7 separate regions of the Homo sapiens genome follow, and all the other regions are linked to region 3. Evidence: promoter capture Hi-C in 16 types of primary human blood cells and fetal thymus (Javierre and others, 2016). All regions are on one chromosome and are shown on one strand. The core of a region is centred on a gene start or on the middle of the fragment in contact, and the rest is flanking DNA. Distances in the headings are between cores, read along the strand shown.

Evidence for each region. The method cuts DNA at HindIII sites, captures the fragments that hold promoters and counts their contacts. A CHiCAGO score of 5 or more calls a contact.
Region 1: a contact is called between a fragment that was not itself captured here and the fragment with the promoter of PCDHB7 in region 3, in 2 of 17 cell types (M1 macrophages and endothelial precursors). The highest score is 6.7, in M1 macrophages.
Region 2: a fragment that was not itself captured here is called in contact with the fragment with the promoter of PCDHB7 in region 3 in 5 of 17 cell types (M1 macrophages, M2 macrophages, M0 macrophages and 2 more); the score reaches 10.9 in M1 macrophages.
Region 4: a contact is called between a fragment that was not itself captured here and the fragment with the promoter of PCDHB7 in region 3, in 4 of 17 cell types (monocytes, M0 macrophages, M1 macrophages and 1 more). The highest score is 6.0, in monocytes.
Region 5: a contact is called between a fragment that was not itself captured here and the fragment with the promoter of PCDHB7 in region 3, in 2 of 17 cell types (M2 macrophages and M1 macrophages). The highest score is 5.8, in M2 macrophages.
Region 6: a contact is called between a fragment that was not itself captured here and the fragment with the promoter of PCDHB7 in region 3, in 4 of 17 cell types (M1 macrophages, erythroblasts, fetal thymus and 1 more). The highest score is 6.9, in M1 macrophages.
Region 7: a contact is called between a fragment that was not itself captured here and the fragment with the promoter of PCDHB7 in region 3, in 4 of 17 cell types (M1 macrophages, M0 macrophages, M2 macrophages and 1 more). The highest score is 9.2, in M1 macrophages.

Annotation. Positions count from the first base shown.
Region 1 is chr5:141,325,114-141,328,615 of GRCh38, reverse strand. No RefSeq gene overlaps it. Among named protein-coding and RNA genes, the nearest start is that of PCDHGA1, 3.6 kb to the left of the region's middle. RefSeq lists an enhancer at 2,169-2,288. The HindIII fragment of the contact is 3,687 bases long and covers 1-3,467 here.
Region 2 is chr5:140,934,677-140,938,430 of GRCh38, reverse strand. All of the region lies in intron 1 of PCDHA1 (protocadherin alpha 1), which reads right to left. The region is part of intron 1 of PCDHA2 (protocadherin alpha 2); the gene reads right to left. All of the region lies in intron 1 of PCDHA3 (protocadherin alpha 3), which reads right to left. The region is part of intron 1 of PCDHA4 (protocadherin alpha 4); the gene reads right to left. It also overlaps PCDHA5, PCDHA6, PCDHA7, PCDHA8, PCDHA9 and PCDHA10, and 5 more genes. Among named protein-coding and RNA genes, the nearest start is that of PCDHAC1, 10 kb to the right of the region's middle. The HindIII fragment of the contact is 499 bases long and covers 1,457-1,955 here.
Region 3 is chr5:141,170,491-141,174,191 of GRCh38, reverse strand. PCDHB7 (protocadherin beta 7) reads right to left here and starts at 1,548. Exons shown (of 1, transcript NM_018940.4): 1 at 1-1,548. The coding sequence starts at 1,356. It also overlaps PCDHB@. The HindIII fragment of the contact is 10,030 bases long and covers 1-3,701 here.
Region 4 is chr5:141,033,146-141,037,173 of GRCh38, reverse strand. No RefSeq gene overlaps it. Among named protein-coding and RNA genes, the nearest start is that of PCDHB1, 16 kb to the left of the region's middle. The HindIII fragment of the contact is 607 bases long and covers 1,543-2,149 here.
Region 5 is chr5:141,305,503-141,308,992 of GRCh38, reverse strand. No RefSeq gene overlaps it. Among named protein-coding and RNA genes, the nearest start is that of SLC25A2, 3.2 kb to the right of the region's middle. The HindIII fragment of the contact is 5,316 bases long and covers 1-3,490 here.
Region 6 is chr5:141,404,478-141,408,112 of GRCh38, reverse strand. All of the region lies in intron 1 of PCDHGA1 (protocadherin gamma subfamily A, 1), which reads right to left. The region is part of intron 1 of PCDHGA2 (protocadherin gamma subfamily A, 2); the gene reads right to left. All of the region lies in intron 1 of PCDHGA3 (protocadherin gamma subfamily A, 3), which reads right to left. All of the region lies in intron 1 of PCDHGB1 (protocadherin gamma subfamily B, 1), which reads right to left. It also overlaps PCDHGA4, PCDHGB2, PCDHGA5, PCDHGB3, PCDHGA6 and PCDHGA7, and 6 more genes. The HindIII fragment of the contact is 857 bases long and covers 1,115-1,971 here.
Region 7 is chr5:140,958,307-140,962,093 of GRCh38, reverse strand. All of the region lies in intron 1 of PCDHA1 (protocadherin alpha 1), which reads right to left. The region is part of intron 1 of PCDHA2 (protocadherin alpha 2); the gene reads right to left. The region is part of intron 1 of PCDHA3 (protocadherin alpha 3); the gene reads right to left. The region is part of intron 1 of PCDHA4 (protocadherin alpha 4); the gene reads right to left. It also overlaps PCDHA5, PCDHA6, PCDHA7, PCDHA8, PCDHA9 and PCDHA10, and 5 more genes. Among named protein-coding and RNA genes, the nearest start is that of PCDHAC2, 6.3 kb to the left of the region's middle. The HindIII fragment of the contact is 1,223 bases long and covers 1,853-3,075 here.

The DNA of each region.
Region 1 (3,502 bases), core at 375-2,874, 150 kb before region 3:
TGGCCAGAGTCACACTGAGGAGAAACAGCATGGAGATCAAGGCAACGGCCATCGCCAGCTGTTGGGTGCTGTCTGCTGCCTGCTGTTGGGTGCTGGGCGATTGCTGAGGTCTGGTAGCAACTCCTGCAAACTATGAGCAGCAACCAGGTGATGTTTCAGCGTGATGATTCACCATTGACCACGGTGACCAACAAACCTTGGCAGGTTGCATCTCTGTTACCCACAGTGACACGGCACGCATCTAGCTCGTGCACATCCCTAGTTTGAAGAGCCACATTAGCTGGCCTGAAGCACATGATAGGACAGTCAGCCTTTATGCCCCAGCTGGTGTCCACTTTGGTGATGGGATAGCTGGGTTGCATTGTGAGTGGTGCAGCATCAAAGAGGGCCCCACTTGGCTGCAACTCCTGGCATAGTGTCCTTGCATTTTTGCAATGGTCATCCACCATCACATGCAGGTTCAGGATGACACTGAGCAAGTTGAACCCTGGTCACTGGCCTGCAGAGTCAGCTCAAAGATAGTCTGCATGGTAACCATAGCACTCTGCACTCACTGACATGTAGAATGACAGTGCCCACAGTGGCAGGTCACTGGTCAAGAAGAAACAGGAGGCATATGGGACCCTAAGTTAGGGTGGGAAGCGCTAAAGCATGTGATGGAGGTGCTGGGCAGTGTTCCCAGTCACCCAAAAGAAATAGGAGGCTTGTTGAAGAATGAGCATTTTTGTGGATGCAGATGGTATGCAGGGTGATGCAGGAGAGGGACAGTTTGTCCTTGTTGGTGGTTCTGATGGTGACATTGTCCTTCAGGGTCTGCTACCAGTTTAGAATTCCATCTGTGAGTATCTGACAAAGAGTCACATCATAATTCTTGGAGGTGAATTGTTTGCCAGTATGATCATTTCTCTCTATAATAACTTTCATCTTTCATTTAAGGTCTCTTAGTCCTATTGTTTTGGTTAGGGCAACCACAGTTTTTACCTCTGATAGGACTAGATACCCAGCTGAAAGTCACCTGCACTGACTGCATTATACTTCTCAACCTTCATTTCAACCAGGACTCTGAAGTCGGCCCTCAAACTGCCTCCAGTCTTCTATTCCAAGCTATAACTGTTACTCTTCAAAATCAAGTATTTCTGTCATTATTGGACAGGAAATATATTCTGTATGCCCTGTAAAATTGTGTAGAAAAATCAGGAGAACTCTATATTAAAGATATTGTCTAGGTCAATGGGGATCACCTAAAGAATGAAGAGGAGGAGGTGGCGAGCAGGTTCTCCTGCAGGCTAACCCCACTTACACATTGCTCAATATCTGACGGCTGGCATTGGCATCCAAGGCCTGTGTCTTGCCCTGAGCTGTTCTGCCCCATCCCCACCACTAAGTGGTGGCAGCTCTGCTCCTCTGGTTCAGGGTTTCTTTTCTTTTCTTAAGAGATGGGGTCTGGCCATGTTACTCAGGCTGGAATGCAGTGGCTATTCACAGGTGTTCTCATAGTGCACTGCAGCCTCTAGCTGGCATCAAGCAATCCTCCTGCCTCAGCCTCCTGAGTAATGGGGACCACAGGAGTGCCACGCTGCACAGGCTCAGGGGTTCTTCAATAGCAGCAATTCAGAGTACATACTGCTGTAGTACTCTCCTTTACTTGTAGGGGAAGGGGAGATGGCTATTAAAACTAATCTGATATATTTGTACAGTTACTGCCGGTGTTCAAAATCTACTGCAGACTTAAGAGTAAACATTCCTCTTATTAAGACGTTTTTCAAAATTTCCAAAACAAAATTTGTGCTAAAAGCCATTTTGTTATTTATATCAAAGATGCATACGTTTATATGAAAACATTTATACGATTTTCAGTGCCTTCAAATTCAAAGGGCCGAGGGTCTTCCTTGGGCATAACTGCTAGATCTATCCCGTCATTCTCAAGCTCGGCTCTGGCTCGTTCTCTGGCTGTAAAGAGAGGCTTCTCAGCACTTACCCTTAGTTCTTTCCGTCACCGAGACGCAGATCTTCTGAGAGATTACCAACCTTAAACCCCTAGCCTTCTCTTCCAGAATTTTACAGCGTATCGGCTACGTAGAATAAAGACCTAGTAGAATAAAGATCTCAGGCAGGGAAACAGCGCTTCCTGCGCTCCTCACGCCTTCCTTATGGGGGACTTCTTCCTCTGTTTCTTCTTCCTGCTGATACTCAGATCCGAATACCTCTCGCTACCGTTGCTCCCTGCTTCCTGCTTCCAAAGATGCTCAGGAATAAAAGGCAGCACCTCACTCGGGGTCACTAGACATCCTGAGATTCCTGACCAAGATATTTCGAGCAGATTGTGAGACAGACAGCGGGCAGAGTCCTCTCCTAATGTGTGTCTCAAAAGCCTGCGGGGACTGCTGCGTCAGTGGATTGCTTTGTTTCCCTCCAGCCACGGATTGGCGGACAGCGGCACCCAGAGGCCTAGTATGATATCCCTAGCAGGTTAGTTTTCAAGGTCCTCAAAAGAGACTGTATTGGCTTTTTTCTCGAGACATATTTTAAAATACCAGCTGCTTTACTAAGAAGGGTACAAATCATTGTTTTTGATAAAATATTAGCAAAATGATCATTTCACAAAATTTAGTTCTAACGTTTTATTAAAATTCTTAATTTTTTTTTTTTTTTTTTTTGAGACAGAGTCTTGCTTTGTCACCCAGGCTGGAGTGCAGTGGCACGATCATGGCTCACTGCAACCTCCGTCTCAAGGGTTCAAACAATTCTCCTGCCTTAGGCTCCCTAGTAGTTAGGATTACATGTACACACCACGATGCTCAACTAATTTTTGTACTTTTAATAGAGATGGGGTTTCGCCATGCTGGCCAGGATGGTCTCGAACTCCTGATCTCAGGTAATCCGTCCGCCTTGGCCTCCCAAAGTGCTGGGATTACAGGTGTGAACCACCGCACCCAGCCTAAAATACATTAAAATTCGACTAAGAATTCTTACAAATTTTTCCCTCTTGACATTTCCTTTTCAAGATGACACACTATTGAAACTTATTTTCTGTAAAAATGGCTACTCAAGAAATTATCCACTGTAAAAAAATTATAAAAAATTCTCACTGTAAATTCAATATATTAAAGGAGAAAATTTCACTATAAAAGGTAGAAAATACTGATAAAAATGTAAAATTATGAATAATTGCATTATGTAACTACTGATATAAAGAATTTACATTCGATGCTTATCCATACTTTAAAAATAGATATATACTTTCACAATTACAAAAATAAGCAGCTCTTTTATGGATACTATTGGTTGCTCATGCCCCTTTTTCCTCTTGTAACACTTCCTTTTAGTTTAGGTGTTCGCCCTTAATGTACCTAGGGAAGCAGAACCTATTCAGAGCTGTAGTAGGTTCTGATAAATTTAATCTAATAATGATAATCTCATCCTCTTGACAGTGCTTAGTTAGGAATATAGACTTAAAATAATAAGCTTAAAGCAGGGCTTCTCAACCCTGGTACTATTTTGA
Region 2 (3,754 bases), core at 457-2,956, 240 kb after region 3:
TAAAGGATTTTTGCAAATAAACCCAATCAAACAATGTATTTCATATTAAATATTTAAAAACTTCCTCTCTGAGACCAGGAATAAGACAAGATTATCCATTAACATTACTTCTATTCAATTTTATACTGAATTTCATAGGCAATGACAGAAAGCAAGAAAACTATGTGATTAGAAAGTTTTTAAAAGACCAGGCATGGTGGCCTATGCCTGTAATCCCAGCACTTTGGGAGGCTGGCGTGGGAGGATTGCTTGAGCCCAGGAGCTCCAGACTAGCCTGGGCAATGTAGTGAGACTCTATCTCTATTTTTTTAAAAAAAGAGAGAAAGTAAAAAATACAATAATAAAACTAACATTATTTGGGAATAGCATGACAGTATATGTAGAAAACCCAAAATATAAAAATATGAGATTTTACTATTTAGCAAGAACATTGGATACAAAGTTAACATAAAATCAGTATTATTTCTATATACTTTCAACAAAAGCCAATTATCAAATTAAACTTTTTTTTTTTTTTTTGAGACGGAGTCTCACTCTGTCGCCCAGGCTGGAGTGCAGTGGCGCGATCTCGGCTCACTCCAAGTTCCGCCTTCCAGGTTCATGCCATTCTCCTGCCTCAGCTTCCCGAGTAGCTGGGACTACATACGCCCGCCACCACGCCCGACTAATTTTTTGTATTTTTAGTAGAGACGGGGTTTCACCGTGTTAGCCAGGATGGTCTTGATCTCCTGACCTCGTGATCCGCCTGCCTCAGCCTCCCAAAGTGCTGGGATTACAGGCGTGAGCCACCATGCCCTGCCTTTCTTTTTCTTTTTAGATGGAGTATCACTCTGTTGCCCAGGCTAGAGTGCAGTGACGCGATCCCAGCTCACTGCAACCTCTGCCTCGCAGGTTCAAGCAATTCTCCTGCCTCAGCCTCCTGAGTAGCTGGGATTACGGGTATGTGCCAACATGTCCAGCTAATTTTTGTATTATAAAATTAAACTTTTAAAATAGCATTAAAATATCAGCTATCTAATAAAAGTTGTGCAATACCCCTATATACACATACACACACATAAACATTAAGATAAAATAATAAAATAAATGGAAGAAGCCGGGCGCGGTGGCTCACGCCTGTAATCCCAGCACTTTGGGAGGCCGAAGCGGGTGAATCACGAGGTCAGGAGATCGAGACCATCCTGGCTAACACGGTGAAACCCCGTCTCTACAAAAAATACAAAAAATTAGCCGGGCATGGTGGCGGGCGCCTGTAGTCCCAGCTACTCGGGAGGCTGAGGCAGGAGAATGGCATGAACCCGGGAGGCGGAGCTTGCAGTGAGCCGAGACTGCGCCACTGCACTCCAGCCTGGGCGACAGAGCGAGACTCCGTCTCAAAAAAAAAAAAAAAAGATAAATGGAAGAATATACCTTGTTAATCGGTTGTCTGTCTCAATATTGTCAATGTTAACAAGCTTCATATTTTTATAGATTCAATAAAGATCAAAATAAGATATTTTCAATATACCCCATATTTTCTACAGATTCAATATAGTGCCAATTAAAATCAAAGCAGGGTTTTTTAAAATAGAAACTGAGAAGCTGAATCTACAATTTATATAGAAATGCAAAGGGCCAAAAATAGCTAAGTTAATCTTGAAGCAGAATAACAAAGTGAGAGAACTTACACAATTAGATATCAATACAAATGAAAAGTTACTATATTTAACACAGAATGTATTGGCACAAGAATAGACAAGTTGACCAATGAAACAGAATAGACAGTCCAGAAACAGAATATATAAAGTCACGTTGCTTATGACAAAGGTAGCACTGCACAGTAGCAGCGAGGAAAGTAGGCAATCTAACTGGATTTACAAGTGGAAAATATAAATCTTGACTTCTACATTGCACTATATTCAAAAGCAATTTCAGGTAATTTAAGATCTAAATGTGCAAGTTAAAACAAGAAAGCTTCCAGAACTACAGCAACCACTAAACAGATGTGGTTATTTAAGCTTAAATTAATTAAAATTAGTAACATTAAAAATTGAGTAGCCCAGTTTCACTAGCCACATTTCAAGTGCTCAGTAGCTACACATTCCATATATGCAGATAGAGAAAATTTATAGCATGTCAGAAAGTTCTATTGGATAGCAATGTTATAGAAGAAAACACAGGAATATATCTTCATGACTTGAAGCAGGATATGTTTTCTTTAAAAGGATAGAAAGAATACTAAATAAAAAAGACAACTTTGGCTGGGCGTGGTGGTTTAGGCCTCTAATCCCAGCACTTTAGGAGGCCAAGGCGGGCAGATCACTTAAGGTCAGGAGTTCGAGACCAGCCTGGCCAACATGGTGAAACCCTGTCTCTACTAAAAGTATAAAAATTAGCCGGGTGTGGTGGTGGGTGCCTGTAATCCCCGCTACTCGGGAGGCTGAGGTGGGAGAATCGCTTGAACCCGGGAGGCAGAGATTGCAGTGAGCCAAGATTGTACCACTTTACTCCAGCCTGGGCAACAGAATGAGAATCTGTCTCAAAAAAAAAAAAAAAAGATAATATTGATAAATTGGAGCTCATTAATTGCTAATCAAAAGACACCATTAAGCAGTATGGAATATGTGTAAATACTATACTACTATGAAATAATCTCGTTTATATTTTTAAGTGAAAAAACTCAAAGTGGGGAAGAATGTGTATTGTATGGAATAATAGATACTAGACTTCTCTAAATATATTTTGTTTTATAAGTTTATTTTGGAGCCATGTAAATATTTCACATAATTATAAAAGAAAATTAAAATTTAAAAAGCAAGCCCTAAATTTGAAAGCGACTTGAAAAAAGCCTAGCTCTGTATCTAGCTGGTGGCTTAACTACACAGAGAGGAACTTTTCCAAGATACTTTAAAACACAATAATTTGACTGTACATGCCTACTGGGCATTTGTAAGGATGTGCCTTATAAATGAAAAGAATGACAAAAACTTAAACTGCTACAGTATCATATTATTTCTGTAGTGCTGAAATTGTTTTCTAAGTCCATTGTTTGAGTCCCGTGGGATAACAAATGAGTAATTCTGTTGACGTTAATGAAAACTGGGATTTGACGTATGGGAGAAATAGGAATGTAAGATTGATGAAGTTAAGTAAAAACCTCGGAGTGCTGAACTTTATTAGATTAGTATAAACATGTGATGTATTTTATCTTTTAAAAAATAGACATCCCTTAGCTCAGTAGCTGAAGATACCTAGAAACAGCAACTGACCCAGCAGCAATAAGCACACCTGTTGTTGAGATTATATCTCTAAGTATCATCTTTCACTAAAAATAAGTGAAAGCTCTTTGAAAAATGGCTGATTCTGGGAAAGGAAATGTACAAGATAATCTGAACATCTTGTAATACCAGAAATCAAGGAAGCATTCAAAAGACTATTAAGACTCACATGAAAAGGATTCAGGGTGTTATCACTGGGGAAAAGTGGGTGACAAGCACATGGGATCTCTCTATACTAGTTTTGTAACTTTATGTGAATCCATAATTATTCCAAAATAAAAGGTTTAAAACAAGATACACAAACACACTCACAAAGACTCAGGAGCAAAGCTGAACAGTTCCCAACTTGCCAAAGTTAGCATAATTTGATCATTAAAAAGATAATTGACATGGATTGGGCCATATCAAATATGTTTAAGTCAATGAGTTCATAATGACACCTAAAAAAGGCCTTGGTCCTTTTTGTAAGATGGCCAGGAATCAATTCATTGTTTTGA
Region 3 (3,701 bases), core at 299-2,798:
GGTGAAGGCGGGAGCGTTGTCATTGACGTCGGAGACCAGCACGGTTATGTTGTGCTCGGTTTTCAGCCTGGGTGTCCCCAAGTCGGTGACGGTGATGGTGATGTTGTACTCAGTGTTCCTCTCTCGATCCAAAGGTTTCTCTGTTACCAGAGTATAGAAGTTTTCGACAGATGGCTTCAGGATGAAGGGGACATCGTCCTGGATGGAGCACACTGTCTTTCCATTGTTCCCGGAATCTCTGTCTCTAATCCTAAAAACAGCCACGACTGTCTCGGGTGAGTTTTCTGCAATTGGGCTAGTAAGTGAAGACAGGAGCAGCTCGGGTCGATTATCGTTTATATCTGTTACATCAACCACTACAGTGCATTTTCCAGAAAGCCCGCCGCCGTCTTTGGCCTGAATAGTTAATGTGTAAGTTTGAATTGCCTCATAGTCCAATTGCGCTTTAAGATGAAGACTGCCAGATGTTGGATTGATTTGAAACGTTTTGAGAATTCTTTCAGTGGCGTAAGAAAATGCATAGGCTATTTCCCCATTACTTCCGGTATCTAAATCTCTGGCTGACACGGAGACAACCATGGAACCAACGGGGCTATTTTCGGGCACCTGCACCTTGTAGAGCGACCGCACAAAATCAGGGGCGTTGTCATTTACGTCTAGAACCAGAATGCGCACGAGGGCGGTCCCTGATCTTGGAGGAGAGCCGCCGTCTAAAGCGGTGAGGGTTAAACTGAACTCTGGTATCTCTTCCCGATCCAGCACTTGATTCAGCACCAATTCGGGATAGATATTCCCCTCCCCGCTATCATGGACATTAATATGGAAATAGGCATTGGGGCTGATGGTGTAGTTACTCAGGCTGTTGGTTCCAACATCTGAATCCTGTGCACTCTCTAGGAGAAATGCCGCCCCTGGAGTGGTACTTTCTAATATTTTCAAGGAAATCTCTCTGTCTAGAAATACTGGAGCGTGATCATTGATGTCTCTGACCCATAGTTCAGCACGGAAAATCTGAAAAGGTTTTTCCAATAACAACTGGAAAGGCAGCACACAGGGCTCTCTGGGGCCACACAGTTCCTCTCGGTCCAATTTCTCATTTAGAAGTAGATCACCAGTAAGCGAACTGAGCAGTAAAATTTGCATGTTCTGGTCTGAAACAATTCTAGTTCCCCGGGCTCTCAGTTCCCCTACCCCTAACCCTAGGTCTTTTGCCAAGTTGGTAAGAAAGGTGCCTCTCTCGGTTTCCTCCGCCACAAAATACCGAAGCGGTTCGGCGCCAGCCCAAGACATTCCCAGAAATACACAAAGAAATAAGACTTGCCTTTTCTGCACAGCACGCTCCACTCTGGCCTCCATTCTTCTTTGGATCAGTCTTTCAAAATGACTTTCACTCAGCCTCCAGCGGCTCTCACAAATGGCAGCAGCGGAATCCTTTGAAATGAGCTGAATAATAGCAATGTTTGTGGGGAAGGATCCTCATTTTACCCCAATTCCTATTACCACTGTTTCCTTTCCTATGCTTTTCTCTTCAGATTGCCTCTTTGCTCTGGAATCTGTAACATCCTTTCTTTGTGAAATTATTTTTCTCTCTCTCTTTTTAGCCAGCAGCGCCACCTTGCGTTTTGTGGATGTTATTCCCGTTATCAAGACTAGAACAAAAAGATGGCGGATTGAAGGAATTCTGCAACAAGAATGATTTGTCCCCGGTATCTTTGCTGTTTCATTCCATCTTTATCCTCAAATGGTCACAGTAATGCTAGTAAGTAATAGCTGATGTCGTTTTCCCCTGTGATAATCTGGATTCGTAGAAGAATTAATTTATAGTCTTCTTAAATCTAGGAGCATGAAACTAAACTCTGACTCCCCACCGAAATCCTAAGAAAATCTCCTATTTTAAAAATGGATAGTAAAAATATATATGAGAAAATGAAACCTCCTCCTTGAAGTCAACAAATATTGGTTGGGGACATTTTATTTATTTGTAAAGTATTTAACAATAATAATGTGAATATGGCAGAATAATTGACCCTTTTCCCAATTTCTTGTGAATTAAACAATTATTCCACTTTCCAGGTCTTAACTCTTTACCTGTGATATTTCTTGGAACACTTTATGCCTCCCCCAAACCCAACCTTCATCCTTCACCTGATTTAAGTATTACATAAGAAATTATTGTTCCTCTATAATTTCAGTGACTAGAATCTCCAATGTCCAATGAATACTCTTAAAATTAGTAGTAGCAAGTTGGTCAATCTTGCATTTGTGGAAGTGCTTCTAGCATTTCATCTTCAACTATGATGGTTGATCTCAATTTGGGGTAAATATTCCTTTTTTGAATCAATAAAGTTTTCTTTTTATTCTTTCATATTTTGAAGTGATTTTTGATAGCTGTTGAAATAATACATTTATTCTTTAGTTTCTAAATTACTGAGTTATTGATATAAATGACATTTAACCATAATGTATTATTGTTTTAGTGCACAGATAGATATGATGTGTCAACATGGTTTTAGGATTTTTCTAGTTAATGTTGTTTACCTAGTGCGTGTTTGCCTTTTATGGCCTTGGTATTAAACTATTATACTGGCATCATAGAATGTGTTAGGGAGCTTTTTATCTATTTTATACAATAGTTTTAATAATTATATTATTATATGTTTCTACATGCTTAATTCCAGCTTGTCTTTTAAACTGGTTGGGTTTGGTGACTTCACTTGCAGTAGATCAGTGACTACCATTTACATTTTACCTTTGGTTATTAATCTGTTCAGGTTTTGTATTTTTAAGTAACTTGCATTTTATTTTGAAAATCATTTTATCTAGTTTGCAAATTTCTTGGAATTGTTTTCATTGCGTTATTTACCTTTAATTGTATCCCTATTTTTATTAGTGATGTTTAGCATTTTAACTCCTTTTTATTCTTGGTGAGACTTGCAAGAGCTCTACTTTACTGATATTTTGAAATGCATTTTTTTCAAAATAATATATGACCTTGGTCCAAAATTAAATAGCACTAAGAGGCTTGTTCTGCCCTTTTCCTCCTCACTTTTCTTAGTTCCCCTTCTAAGAGGTAGCCATTTTAAAACTCTTTTAGTTATCTCTTCAGTCACTAATCTGTTTTCTGATATATTTTGATTAATTAATTTTAGAAATTATCAATTGACTGTTTATTATGTTAGATTACATTTTAGGTATTTTAGATTTTCTTTTACTTACCATATATTGGGAACATTATTGTGTATTAATTATGTTTTCTTTTTCAATTTTTTTGTGATTTTAATAATTATCTTGCCTTTTCATTTACTTGATTTTTTTTATCCCTATCACTTATTCATCCCACAGATACAATTGCCTGTCAGTGCAATTTTCCCCATAGTCATTTCCATTCCTCCTGAGACTTCAATTTTTCTTTAAATTGGGTGGTTGCTTTCTGTGCCTACTGCACAGCTATCATTCTGGATTTTTTTCTTTGCTGTCATTCTTGGAATTCTTTGCCTTTTATTCTGGATGTGTTTGCTATTTCTGGGATTTTATAACTTGCCCTTTTTCAGTTTACTCTATGGCATTACTAGAACACATCCTCCAATAGGTTCATATGATTGAAAAGATGATACAATGTTAAGAGGATTGCTAATGATATCCTTCAAAATCTCTGTCTCTTGAGTCAAACAGCTCCTTACTGGACTAGTTGTTCATTATGC
Region 4 (4,028 bases), core at 597-3,096, 140 kb after region 3:
CACATCATAGGACTCATGAAGCTGAAGCAAAAATACTCTAGAATAAAGAGTTAGAATTTGTTACAGTCACATGAGAAAAAATATGGTACATGGGGCTGTAAGTCTGATCCTATGATGTAGCTAGAAAAACAGTTATCTGTCATCAAATAATCATTGCTTATTTCTCTTTTGCCGGGTTGTAATACCAGATACCAGAAAATTTAAAATACTTGTTAATTTATTCATTTATTCAGCAGATATTTATTGAGCACCTATGAAGTGCCAGACACTAGACTCTGGGCATATAGCATCAATAATATATGGTATGCATTATTAGGGAACCCCTGCCTTTAGGGAGCCCAAAAATAGATACACAATATTATATGAAATAGTGGCAAATGTTATAAAGGAGAAGGGGGATGATGAGAAACCAATTAAGGGTTTTTAATGGAGATTTGATTTACATTATAAAAAGATAAGTCTGGCTGTTGTATGGGTAGAAGAAGGGAAATTCATTAGAAGCTCATGGCAATAATGCAGGCCAAAGATAATGGTAGTTTGTACAAGGGTAGGGGTGCTGAAGAAGTTTAAAAAATTGGTTGGGTCTGGAACTTTTTTTTTTAATTGGCATGATTTCATGATGGATTTAATGGAAAATGAAATAATAAAAAAAGAATGCTCTCTGTTTTGAATATCTTAGTGATTGGTGGTGTCATTACTAACATGAGGAAAGTTAGGGTTAGTTTTGGAATGGAAAAATCAACAATTTTATTTTGGACATGCTAAATTTAAAATGCTTGTTAAACATCTAAGTCATATCAAGTGGGCAAATGAATATTTGGATCTGGGGACTTAGAGGAGATACTATATCTACAAATATGAATTTTAAAGTAAAGATTAGGAAAACTATAAAGCAATGAAATGAGGTCACCTGGAAAATTCACGTAGATAGAGAAGATGGTGAATCCTAGCACACATCAGCTTTAGAGGTCTAGAAAATGGAAAGAAGCCAGCAAAGGAGACTGAAGGAGGGAATGACCAGTGTGGTAGGAGGAAATCCAGGAAAGAATGTCCCCTGAGAACCATGTGGAGAAACTGTTTGAAGGAGAAAGGAAATACTGCTTTAGTTTAGTAAAATGAGGCTTGAGATAGAAAGATGGAAACCTCTTGTGACCTTGGCAGAGCAGATTCAATGAAGTAGTAAAATAAAAACCTGATCTAATATGATAATCCATTATGAAAATATTACAGAGCTTGAGTTCATTGTAAATAATGCTACTTGAAGTAGAGGTCATATGAATTGCTAAGATTGATGGTCTATATGCATATAATTAATTAACTTCTAAATTCACTATTTCTTAGTATTAGTAGATCAAAGTATATAGATTGTTTTACTGTAATGATGGCTGCCTAAAGGGAATATTGAGTCATAATTTCTTCATAGCTCTGAAGATACTATTTAATTCTATGATTTGTAACAATGAAAATAATAGTTTTAAATTCTTCCCTTCTTCTGAGATATTACAAATACCTACTCTGGGCCTCAAAATAGAAAAATAAGCTTCCTTTGTGAAGAGCTCTTTGTTAAACTTCCTATTTTACTGAGGACTCCATATGATGCACTGATGTTTGCAAAAGAGTTCTTTTATTACTTGTGTTTGTACCATGATGAGGCTGTTTCCAATAATTGTTGTAATTACTAGGTCTCCTAATCTTGCAAATTGTCCACTCTACAAAGCTCAGTTCCATCTGATGGGCCCAGTAAAGGAGCTTTAGAATGCTGTCACCTGAGCCAGCTCTTTTCCACAGCATTGTTCAATCAAGGGACTTCTCTTCTAAAGATTGTTTTTTACCTAACACTCAATCACCACTCTAGTCATTCAGTTACTAAATATTATTAGGCATCTCCTATGTTTGGCCTCTCCTGGAGTCAGAAAATGTAATGTCGAATGAGATGGATCCCATCCTAGCCTCACAAAACTTAGATCCTAATGGGTAAGACAGACAAAAAAATTGTTACAGCAAATATGTTACAGACCGCCAGCATAAGAATACAGGGTAATAGAAGAACTCAAAACTACAGATGGGAAATGGGAGGCTGGGAAAGGCTGGGCTCTGAAAGATGAAGAGTTATCTAAGCAAAGAGGAAGGAAAACAATTGCAAAAAGCTTGTACAAAGATTTAGAAGCAATGAAAGGATAGTGCATTTGAAGAACACTGTGGAAAAGGGAATAAAATTTATCATTATTTTTCTCTCCTTTAGGGTGACTTGCTTTAATACTTCTTAGTGACCTTCAAACCACCTTAAAAATTGATTATTCATTGTCAGATTTTATTTTTTGCTTGTAAAGGCTATTTATTTTTGTGTAGTAATCAGTATTCATTAGCTAATAAATATTATGATAGTGCTTATCTGTATTAGCTAATATTTCTCTATTATATAATATATAAACTATAAAAATATATAATATATAAATTATAAAAATATATTACCTAATATATAAATTATAAAAATATACAATATATAAATTACAAAAATATTATATAATATATAATAATTAGAGAAATATTAGCTAATACAGATAAGCACTATCATAAGGTGATAATCAATTTTAGTAATATTTTTGAAATTCTTTTCAGATAATTTTCGAACATTTTAAAAGTATTATTCTCTAACTCTTCCAAGATTGCCTAACCACTCCAATTTTTCATTAATTCACTCTCATGAGGCTCTAAGGGGTTTCTGTACAGATTAAGCATTTCCTCTTATTCCAATTCCATAATATGAATCATGATGAATATAATAATTTATCAAGAAATATTTAATAAGTGATGCTTTATTTCTAATATGCTCTGAGTATAACTGAAAGAAATTCAATTTTTCTAAGATTTAATAAACTCAAGATAACACCTAACTGATGATTCATTCTCTTATTATTCCTGGAAATCTGGGTGTGGAAGAGGTAAATGAAAACACATAATTAGGTGTTATGCAGAGTTTAAATTATAATTTTTTTTCTGTGCAAAAGAGAGACCCGGTATAGTTTTAATTTTACATATAAGGAAACTGAAGGCCAGAAAAGTAGAATGTCCAATATTACACCTCAAGTTAGCAAAAAAAAAAAAAGTCCTGGAAATCAGATTCTGACTCAAGTCTAGTGCTTTTCTCATTATGATAATATCTTTGTTCCTCATTTTTTCTTTTTCTTTTCTTTTCTTTTTTTTTTTTTTTTTTGAGACAGGGTCTCACTCTGTTGCCCAGGTTGAAGTGCAATGGCATGATCATGGCTCAGCAGCCTAGAACTCCTGGGCTCAAGCGAACCTCCTGCCTCAGCCTCCAAAGTAGCTATGACTACAAGTGCCTGCCATCAGACCTGGCTAATTTTTTGTTTGTTTGTTTGTTTTTGGTAGAGACAGGGTCTCACTGTGTTGCCCAGGCTGGTCTTGAACTTCTGGCCTCAAGTGATCCTCCTGTCTTGGCCTCCCAAAGTGTTGGGATTATAGGTATGAACTACCACACCTGGCCTCAAAGTGCTTTTGATCTTTAAAAGTTTGAGGGCCACTGCTTAGAAATCCATTTGTTTAGTCAATAAATATTTATAAAGGACCTATGACATTTTAGGATTGTTCTAGGTATTGGGGATACAGCAGTGAATGATTGACAAAAATTTCTGCTTTCTGGGAACTGGAGAGATCATCAGATCACTGATACCAGCTGGGATATTTATAGGACTGGATACATTTGAATTTCTGGTATGTGCACATGTACATGTGTGTGTGTATTCAGCTGGTTTCATTTACATTTGAGTATATGAAGATACAATTTCCATGCAATAAAACTCATTATTTTAAGGGTACAGTCTGACAAGTTTTGACGAACATACATAGTCATTTAACTACCACCACAATAAAAATATAGAATATTTTCATTACCCCGAAAAGTTCTTTCATGCCTCTTTGTATTTAATCCTTTACCCCACCTGCAGCTTCTGATAAAACTGATCTGATTTCTATCCCTGTTTAAATGGAGTCACACAGTAGGTACCTTT
Region 5 (3,490 bases), core at 549-3,048, 130 kb before region 3:
GTTTTAGGCTCTCTCCATAATGAAATAGTAATGCAGACTATATGCCATGTCACTAGACTTGGAATGCCTTGGACTTGCTTATATTTATTACACATATAATGGGCTCCCTTTGTCTTAAGGTCTACATCTAATGGCTAAACCATTTCCAAATATCTGTTTCATTTGCCATTCAGTGTTTATTTTTAGACTACAGGATGCTTCGAAGGCAAATTTCTAATTTATATTAGGTGACCTTGCAAAATCTACATAATATGTTATTATTTAAATAATTTCTGGGCTGAGCACAGTGCCTTATTCCTGTAATCCCAGCACTTTGGGAGGCTGAGATGGGAGGATCACTTAAGCCCAGGAATTTGAGACCAGCCTGGGCAACATAGTGAGATTCTGTCTCTACAAAAAATTTAAAAATTAGCTGGGTGTGATGGTGCACACCTCTGGCCCAGCTACATGGGAGGCTAAAGTGGAAGGATTGCTTCAGCCTGAGAGGTTGAGGTTACAGTGAGCCATGATTGTGCCACTGCATTCTGGCCTGGGCAGCAGAGCAAGACAAACCAAAACAAAACCCTTTTCCCCCGTTCCCTTTCCTGAAAGTGAAATCAAAACATAGAAAAAAATTCCTCAAATATGACATGAAGGATTTAAAAATCCTAATGAAGTTTTCTATTTTCAAATTGCAGATTGTTCTCATCCTTTCTGCTTTACCTAAGAGGCTGCTAAATAAAACAACAGAAAGGATTTTTAAAAGATGTTAACTTCTAAGGACAAAGAGAATAGGAAATGAGACAACAGTGGATGAGAGATGTCAACCCATTATCTGAAGGCCAAAACAGAGAAATGATAAATGAATTCATAGATCAGAAAAAGTTACATGCTAAATGTCTGCAAGTAGTTATACCAAAGAGAGACAAACCCACTTGACAGAGCCTTGTAAGATGCAAAATTTTTGCAAGCAGAAGATTCCAGGGAAGGTGGGAAGGTGTAGGGTTAGAGATGTGAGATTCATTAAAGTCTGTGTTCAGAGTTGTTGGGTGTCCAGGATCTCTATCCCACTCTATGAAGCCAGATAACTCTTTCCATCCCACAGAAGATGGAAATTTTATTTTCTGGATAAATTGAACCAAAGAAGGCCCAAACTCAGAGAAAGTAGGCACAGTGTCAAATAAGGAAAAAATTATGTGAAAGTCTGTATATTTACTCCAGGTGTGTCATCCCTCTTCCCCTCTCTTGTTCTCTTTAAATCAGTATCTAGGTTTATAACCTACCTCTCCCCCACCACACCCTGCACACACACAGTCAAAGCTCATAGAGCATTCTCTGAGGAAACTATGTGGTACCAGAGAAAAGAACTGCAACTGCTGACATTTGGGCATTTCCCAAAGAAAAGCCCAGATTACTATTTACTACAGTGAAGACTACCTGGTGACAAATTATCCATGCACAATTTGCTTTTTAGTACCTCATTAAAAAATTTTTTTTTAAATTTTCTCAGAGACCTTTGTTCTGAAGTACCTCACTTTTAATTGACAGCCAAGGATAATTAGACAAGGAAAGTTTTCTAAATGAAAGAGAATGCTTTCAGCATACTTTCTTCCCCCCAGATTTTGTTTTTACTACCCATGGCCGACGACGGCTTGGAATGTAAGCCTGGAGAGAATTCATTCCAATGCTGGGATTATAAATATCTGGGAGGAAGAAGTGTGTCCTGACAGTGGTATCCTCACTAATGTCCAAAAAACATCTTGCTTTGAAAGCTAGACATGTCATTTGTATCCCGAACTTCTACTTCTTTTTAAATTGAATTTCATTTTAGATTCAAGGAGTACATGTGCAGGTGTGTTACATGGGTATGTTGTGTAACGCTGAGGTTTGGGCTTCTAGTGAACCCGTCACCCACATAGTGAATGTAGTACCCAACAGGTAGGTTTTCAACCCTCAATCCCTCCCACCCTCCCCACTTTTGGATTCCCCAGTGTCTGTTATTCCCATCTTTATGTCTTTGTGTACCCATTGTTTAGCTCCCACTTATATAAGTGAGAACATGCAGTATTTGATTTTCTGGTTCTAAGATATTTCACCTAGAATAACAGCCCCCAGCTCCATCCATGTTGTGAGGGACATAATTTCATTCTTTTTTATGGCTGCATAGTATTCCGTGGTATACATATACCACATTTTCTTTATCCAATCAACTATTGATGAACACTTACATTGATTCTGTGACTTTCCTGTTGTGAATAGTGCTTCCATAAACATATGAGTGTAGATGTTTTCTGGTTTTTTTTTTGGAGACAGGGTCTTGTTTTGCCACCCAGGCTGGATCATAACTCACTGCAGCCTCCAACTCAGCTCAGTCAATCCTCCCATCTCCGCCTCCTGTGTAGCTGCCACTACAGGGGCATGCCATCATGCATGGCTACTTTTTGTATTTTTTTGTAGAGATGGCATTTTGCCATGTTGTCCAGGCTGGTCTGGAGCTCCTGGGCTCAAGCGATCTACCTGGCTTGGGCTCCCAAAATTCTGGGATTACAGGTGTAAGTCACTGTCCCCAGCACAGGTGTCTTTTTGATAAAATGATTTCTTTTCCTTTGGGTAGATACCTAATAGTGGGATTGCTGGGTTGAATGGGTGTTCTATTTTTAGTTCTTTGAGAAATCTCCATACTGCTTTCCATAGGGGTTGAACTATTTTACATTCCCACCAACAGTGTACAAACGACAAATTTCTACTTCTGCATGAGGCTGTGTGGGTCCTCAAAGAGAATCTCAAAACTTAGAAAGCATAGTGCTGAGCCACCCAGCTCTTTTCTATCAAGTTTCTTAGCAATGCAGTATATAAATACTATCCATTTTCCAAGTTGATTTTATAGTGCCGTGTTCTATCTTCAGAAATGATAAGGACTCCACGTTCCACCAGTTCCCAGGGCTGCAACCCCAGATCCTTGGGGATGTTGCCATGTGATAGCATTTCTCCAGCTCTGCAGGAAAGCAGTAGCACATCTCCAGGGCTAAGGATTCCCACAGTGCCCTACTCCCCTCCTTGCCCCCCAGGAAAGTGAGGAGCGTGGGCAGATCGCTGAGGGTTTTCTGATCAAAAGCAGTCACTGTCTCTCATGTAGCAACCCTCAGATCGTTTCGTTACCGGACAGGGGTCCCGATCCAGACCCAAGAGATTGTTCTTGGATCTCATGCAAGAAATAATTTGGGGCAAGTTCATAGAGTCAAGTGAAAGCAAGTTTATTAGAGAAGTAAAGAAGCAAAAGAATGGCTACTCCATAGGCACAGCAGTGGCCTGGGCGGCTTGACTAAGGATACTTACAGTTTTTTATTGAATGTAAGCTAAACAAGGGGTGGATTATTCATGAGGTTTCTGGGAAAGGGGTCCAAAGTTACCGGAACTGAGGATTCCTCCCCCTTTTTAGACCACATAGGGTCACTTCTTATTGTTGCCATGGCATCTGTAAGTGGACACGGCGCTGGTGGGCGTGTCTTTT
Region 6 (3,635 bases), core at 294-2,793, 230 kb before region 3:
GGAGTCCCGGGTCTCGGAGCTGGCAATCCGCTGTGCTGGGAAAGGTCTGCGCAGCCGGGAGGCTCTGTGTGGGAGCTGGTTTTCTTCTTTCTGTTGTTGGCTGCGCAGGGAATCCCAGGCCAGAGGCTGACGGATCCCCGGCGTCAGCGCTTGCTCTGCACTGGCCGACAGCGGCGCCCAGAGGCTCCGTGCGGGACAGCAGCCCGGTTTTTCATTTTGAATTCGGTCTCCGAAATGTATATATTCTTCGAAAATGCAGGTGTACATCCCCCTCAAATTTTGCTCTCACCATAATATTATAGTAGATATTTCTATGCTTTGTGTTTTAAATAAATCTATTATGCACAATTTCAAACTTATACAACAGTAGGGAGTATATATAGTGAACCTTCACATAGCCATCACCCCACCTTCAACAATGATCACCACAAAGCCAATCTTTGTTTAATATATACTGCGCTCCCCCATTATTTTTAAGTAATACGAGATATAGAATGTCAACCAATGCTTCTTTTTAAGATGAGACATTAAGGTCAAGAATTTTATCTTTCAGCTTATGTTCTACAATCTGTTACCAATGCACAATAAGTTAAGTCCTACATAGCCTAAGAAAAACAGAAATAAAGATTTTCCATACTCCATTCAGTCATCTGTCTGGTGAGCCTCGTGTTCTGGTTTTAAGGGCAAGAGACATTTTTGTGGTATCGAATAGTAACTACCTACCATGACATACAAGCCTTCATGGATATCTGTTATGTTTTCCCCAAATTAACATACATTTCAATATTTATAAATACTAAGTATGAAGGCTACTCCTCAGAACAGAAATTGTAACAATTTTCTTGTTGCATGGTTAAAAATATGAGCCTGAAGTATGCTTTATTTTTTTTGCTACCCACTTAAGGGGGAAAACGTGTTTGAAATAATTAAAATGTCTGTATGTCATAAAGGATTCCCAGACACTTCAGCTTTTTTTTCTTAAAAATAAAGCAACTGAAACCCAAATAATTACAAACAAATAAAACAATTCTTCATTTCCACAGAAATGCCAGCAGTCATCAGTGTATCTATGGATCACATGTTTAGCATAGAATTTTGAGTCAACTTCAAAGCTTATTTTCAAATGTCTTGTGAAATGTTATTTACTATTTGAAACAACACTATGTTTAAAATAACATTAAATAATACATTATTCTCTTCCTTATAGCTAAAAACAGTAAAATAGTTTTAGAATCTTCCCAGCAGTTCCTGAGAATATTTTCTTAAATTATATCTGATATGCAAGTTCATTTCTAGACTCAAAAGTTGGAGAATTGAGCCAGAAATAATATATAAGTGAGAGAAATATTTTTAATTCCTTGTTTTGTCATTTCACAGTGTCCAGTCTTAGAAACTTCTCTTGAGCAAGCATATACTATAGAAAAGAAGAATGTCCTACTATTCTCCATAATTTAACATTAAAGCATTAGGAAATTAAGACCTTTGAAGATATGAGAATAAAAGATGTGACAACTTTCACCATTAAAGGGAAAAAATTGGTTTACTAGGGTTTGGAAGTGGATAACTGAAGTTTGAATCTTCGTCAGAAAATATCTGTAAACACAAACAGACTTTACACACTTGTGATCTGAAAAATATAACCTCAAAGAGGTGTTTTCCTGTCATAGAAATGGAAGAATAGAAGCAATAAATCTGGGCTTTCAGCTGTTTCTCTAAGAAGAATACATTTACCTTTTTATCAGTTTACCCTTACAAACATAGTATGACCTGAATAAATGATCGTAGGAGTAAGAATTTGCTGGGTGAGGTGGTTCACACCTCACCCAGTGCTTTGGGAAACTGAAGCAGGAAGATCGTTTGAGACCAGTCTGGGCAACATAGCTTGCTAGCCCTCCCACCTCAGTCCTAGCTACTGTGAAGGCTGAGGTGGGAGGATTGCATAAGCCCAGGAGATTGAGACTGCAGTAAGCTTTACCCACACCACTGCATTCCACCCTGGACAACAGAATGACACCCCCATCTCTTAAAAAAAAAAAAAAAGGAGTAAGAATTTTATGATATGAGTCCACTGCAACCAATGAAGCAACCCTACCCAAAAAGCCCACATCAATGCAGGCTGAGAGCTACCCCATGAAGTATGGTTTACGTTGACAGCAGGTTAATTATTATGAGAACATGAAAGTTATATCAGCAAATATAACTAATAAATGCCTCCTTTCAGTGTTGGAGCAACAATTAGGCCCAGTGAAAAGTGATGAGAAACACACTGATATCAACTTATACTACCTTAAGTACAGACAGTTAAAGAGAAAGCTAACTATAATAGAAAGTTAAGGGCCAGGCGCAGTGGCTCACGCCTGTAATCCCAGTGCTTTGGGAGGCTGAGGTGGGTGGATCACTTGAGGTTAGGAATTCAAGACCAGCCTGGCCAACATGGTGACACCCCGTCTCTACTAAAAACACACAAAAAATTAGCCGGGCGTGGTGGCACGTGCCTGTAGTCCCAGTTATTCTACTTGGGAGGCCTGTAGTCCCAGCTACTCTACTCTAGTCCCAGCTACTCTACTTGGGAGGCTGAGGCAGGAGAATCGCTTGAATTTGGGAGGCGGAGGTTGCAATGAGCCGAGATCACACCACTGCATTCCAGCCTGGGTAACAGAGTAAGACTCTGTCTCAAAAACAAAACAAAACAAAAAACAAAAAAAGAAAAGAAAGAAAGAAAAAAAATGAACTCACCGGAACCAAAGGGGTGTCTTCTATAGGAAACTTGGAATCAACAGAGACGCACAAAGGCTCATTTTTCTCACAGCTCTGCTGGCTGATGAGTGTGTCTGCATAGTTGGGCTGGGGGAAGATCAGGTGACTCTTCCTTGAGTCAGCGGTGAGGGAGAACTCCTGAGAATAGGTCTGTAGGAAAGCTCGAACCCCATCTACACCCACAAAGTGTGAGGTGGGCACACCAGCCAACCCATCACTGGTAGCCCGCAGCAGATGCGAGGAGTGCCAGTGCCTCAGCCTGAGGGCCAGCAGCGTGATAACGAAGGTGAGGAAGACACAGGAGACGACTGCCACAGCCACAACGAGGTAGAGGGTAAGGTCTGAGGCCTCCAGGTCTGCAGGGATCTGAAGACTGCCCAGGTCAGCCAGGATGTCTGGGATGCTGTCAGCTATGGCTACTGTGAGCGTGACAGTGGCCGAGAGAGGGGGCTGGCCATGGTCCTGTACAGCCACCACAAGGCTCTGTTTGAGCGCATCTCTATCTAGCAGGGCCCGAGCTGTGCGCACTTCACCTGTGTGCAGCCCCACCGAGAAGAGCCCTGGCTCACTGGCCTTGAATAGGCGGTAGGAGAGCCAAGCATTCTGGCCTGAGTCTCTGTCCACTGCCACCACCTTGGTCACCAGGTAGCCAGGCTCTGCAGAGCGGGGTGCCAGCTCCACACCAGTAGAACCATCAGTGGGGAGGGCAGGGTACAGGATTTCTGGGGCATTGTCATTCTGGTCCAAAACAAACAGTCTCAATGACACATTGCTGCTAAGTGGTGGGCTTCCACTGTCACTTGCCGTCACCTGCATTTGCAAATCTCTAAACTGCTCATAGTCAAAGGAGCACAGAGCATACAGCACACCAGTGTCTG
Region 7 (3,787 bases), core at 1,215-3,714, 210 kb after region 3:
CTAACATGGTGAAACCCCGTCTCTACTAAAAAATACAAAAAAATTAGCCAGGCATGGTGGTGGGTGCCTGTAGTCCCAGCTACTCGGGAAGCTGAGGCAGGACAATGGCGTGAACCCAGGAGGCGGAGGTTGCAGTGAGCCGAGATCATGCCACTGCACTCCAGCCTGGGCAACAGAGCGAGACTCCATCTCAAAAAAAAAAAAAACTGATGTAAGTAAGTCAATTATCTGTGGCCAGATAAATGATCTTCCAAGGCACTGAAATAACTTACAGATGTGACTAGAGAACCCAATTTCCTATCTTTTAAAAAGTGCCATTAAGCTTGATATAAATTCCTTCAAAACTGTAATATTACTAAAGTGATTGTTTATGAGCACTTAGAAATGAAGGCATTCATACTAAGGACTACTCCGGCTTAATTAAAAACTGGTAACTTCAAACTAACCACATAGACTTAAGATTGTTTTTCATATGGGCACTTTAGTTTCATTTACTAGAATCATTGCCAAAATAAATGCTTATCAAAACAAAATTTAAAAAAAGAAATGCTGCAGGAACAGTCTATCTAGAATTTGTGGAGACATTAAACAAAGTCTCCCAATATACTCACGTGGACAAGACAAAAAAAGAAAGGCAGCTGCAAGACAGTGTAGTTAGGTGATTTTGTAATTGTTTAAATAACATGCCAAAAAGTGTTTACTAATGGAATAGTTCAAACTAGAAGGAGAATTCTAATGGGGACTACAGGGATCCACTCTTGGTCTCTCAAGAAACAGAGCCTGGTAAATCATGTTCTTTAACCTCAAGAAACAGAGCCATGGTAAAAAGAAGCTTCCTGGAGCTTCGGATAAATTCCATCACCTTTTTGGGACCCAGTTTCTTCATCAATACCAACCTCACTAGGGTCCTGTGAGGAGTACATAAGGTTAGATATGTACTGAAATAATATGCCAACTCTTAAGTGCCAAGACATTAAGATGCAAGGGGGTTGGGTGACCAAAAAGTCAACAATTACTTGATACTCCAGATATCCCATTCAACATTTTGTTAATGACTCAAAACAAGGAGGTAGCAAGTGTCCATGCAGTCCAGCAGCAAATTGAGCATTTTTGGAACAAGAATTGCAACTGCCTAGGTTAAGCTATGTTTCTAATTCACTAAACTTAGTACCAATTTTCTATCTGAAACTCAAGATATGCCCCAAATTCATTAGTGTGTATTTCAGCTAATTTCTGGCTTATAGTTGCCATTAAACCTGTTCCAAGTTTCCATTCATCACTTGGGACCTCTTATTTTAATAGAAACCTTGTTTGGCCCTATTTCTCCTCTGTAACTCTTGGGATTTTAGCCATGGACTAAAATCATGGACTAAAATAAGATGAGTATTTGGCACTAAAGAACACCCTCATTCCCAAGTAGGTTTTAGCCAAAGCATTCATTGATTTGGATAGGGGTTTTAAAAATATATTTCAAAAACACACTAGATATTGTTGAAGTACCTTGAATTTGAACTGTTTTCCAACTGTTTTCCTAAGCTCAGTCTATATGAAGGCCACAGTTTCTCTTTCCTATACCCATTATGTTTGCTGCTTGGAACAAACAAACCTACACCTCTGTGTAAGAAGGATTACTTCTCAAAATTATCCATACATATATCTAGAGTATCAAGTAATTGTTGACTTTTTGGGCACCCCCCCTTGCATCCTAATGTCTTGGCACTTAAGAGTTGGCATATTATTTCAGTACATATCTCACCTCATGTACTTCTCACAGGACCCTAATGAGGTTGGTATTGATGAAGAAACTGGGTCCCAAAAAGGTGACGGAATTTATCAGAAGCTCCAGGAAGCTTCTTTTTACCATGGCTCTGTTTCTTGAGATCCTGAAATAACATCTGACCACTACACATGCAACCCCTAACTTAAGAATTGTATTATCAGTCTCAAGCTATTAATATCTAAGTATTTCATAAGGAATACTATTGTTCCCACAACTACAAGTTTCTTTCTCTTTTAGAAACTTCAATTGAATCTTCTGTACATGTTTTTAATAATAAACAGCCGGACTTAACAAAATCATGATGCAAAATAGATTTGTATTTCATATCCCAACTTCTTCTTTCAGTAACATCTACCTCCTACCTATGATATTCTGCCTAAGTAATGGGGCTTTACAAATGGCTTTGATTTTTCTGATATAAATCCCACTCGTGTATTCCTTGACAGATTTTGCTACATAATTCCTTTAGCAGTTACAGGCATAATACATTATCATGTGGGTAAAATATAAATCCTCTAAATTAGCCATGTTAATATACACTGTTCTTACTGAATATTAAAATATACTTTAAGGCATTTTGATGAGATAATGTTATCTAAAAATTTTCCCTTTCAAAGCTCATTTTATTGAAATTATTTAGAAATGATTTACAAATTCTTCAATTTTGCTTCTGTGTTTTTTCTCTCTTTTTTTCTATCACAAGCAAGAAAAGCATGTTATACTTGGCTGATAGAATTGAAACAAAAAATCTAGTACTGATTCTATTTATACAGCATCTCTGAATTAATGGTCTTAAAGATCTTAAAATTTTTTAGTTTGATCCATATATAACAATATGCCTTGATTGATGCCAACTTCAGCTTTTCAGCACAAAATAGAAAAAAATACACAAATTCTCAGATCAATCAACACTTTATCTTAATTTGTGACTTTTTTTTTTGAGACAGGGTCTCACTCAGTTGTCCCGCTGGAGTGCAGTAGCATAATCAAAACTTATTGCAGCTTCAACCACCGGGCTCAGTGATGCTCCCACCTCAGGCTCCTGGGTAGCTGGGACTACAGTCATGCACTATCATGCCCAGATAATTTTTGTATTTTTTGTAAGGACAGCATTTCACCATGTTGCCCAGACTGGTCCTGAACTCCTGGGGTCAAGCAATCTGCCCACTTTGGCCTCCCAAAGTGGGCTCACCTCGCCCACCTTCGGACCCCTGCTGAATGTCCGAAACCAAGGATAATACTGAATTCTATATATACTGCATTTTTTCCTATACATACATACCCATGATAAAGCTTAATGTATAAATTAGGTACAGTAAAAGATTAGCAACAATAACTAATAATAAAATAGAACAATTATAATAATATAATATTATTACAAGTATGAGCCACCACACCCAGGCAGACTTTTCTGTATCTATTATATAGCTACTGGTCAATTCTTTTATAAACCCAGTAAACCAAAGACACTGGAATGATAACTTTAAGATATAAAAATTAAAACAGAATGGTGTGATAATTTACTAGAAATAGAAAGTTGATTTCAAACAGAAATGGGTAAAAATCTCCTTTCTCTCTTTCCCATTCAGTGTTACATTTATTATAACAGAGTTGTCACTCTAGGATATTCAATATCCTTTATAATTAAAATTTCATCATAGCTTTCTGTGATTGGTTTTCTGCAGTACTCTCAAGCTGGACTAGTATTCCTTTGATCCAATTATCATAAGCTCATTTAAAATCTCAACTGTGTATGAAACATTTATTGGTTCATAAATCAATGTACACATAGTATATATTGGACAGCCATGCCTCCTAGGATATGTGGACTTAGTGCTCTTTAAGCCAGCAGAAGTTGAAGAATAAAAGGTATTTTTAAATTATAAAAAGTGCTTCTTTCCAAGCATCAGTGATAATGTTTGATGACCTGTTAAGAAAATAGCAACATTCCTGATAAAGTCAGACTGTGAACTTCCTGTGATTTATTTATTTTTTGAGCTCTAATTT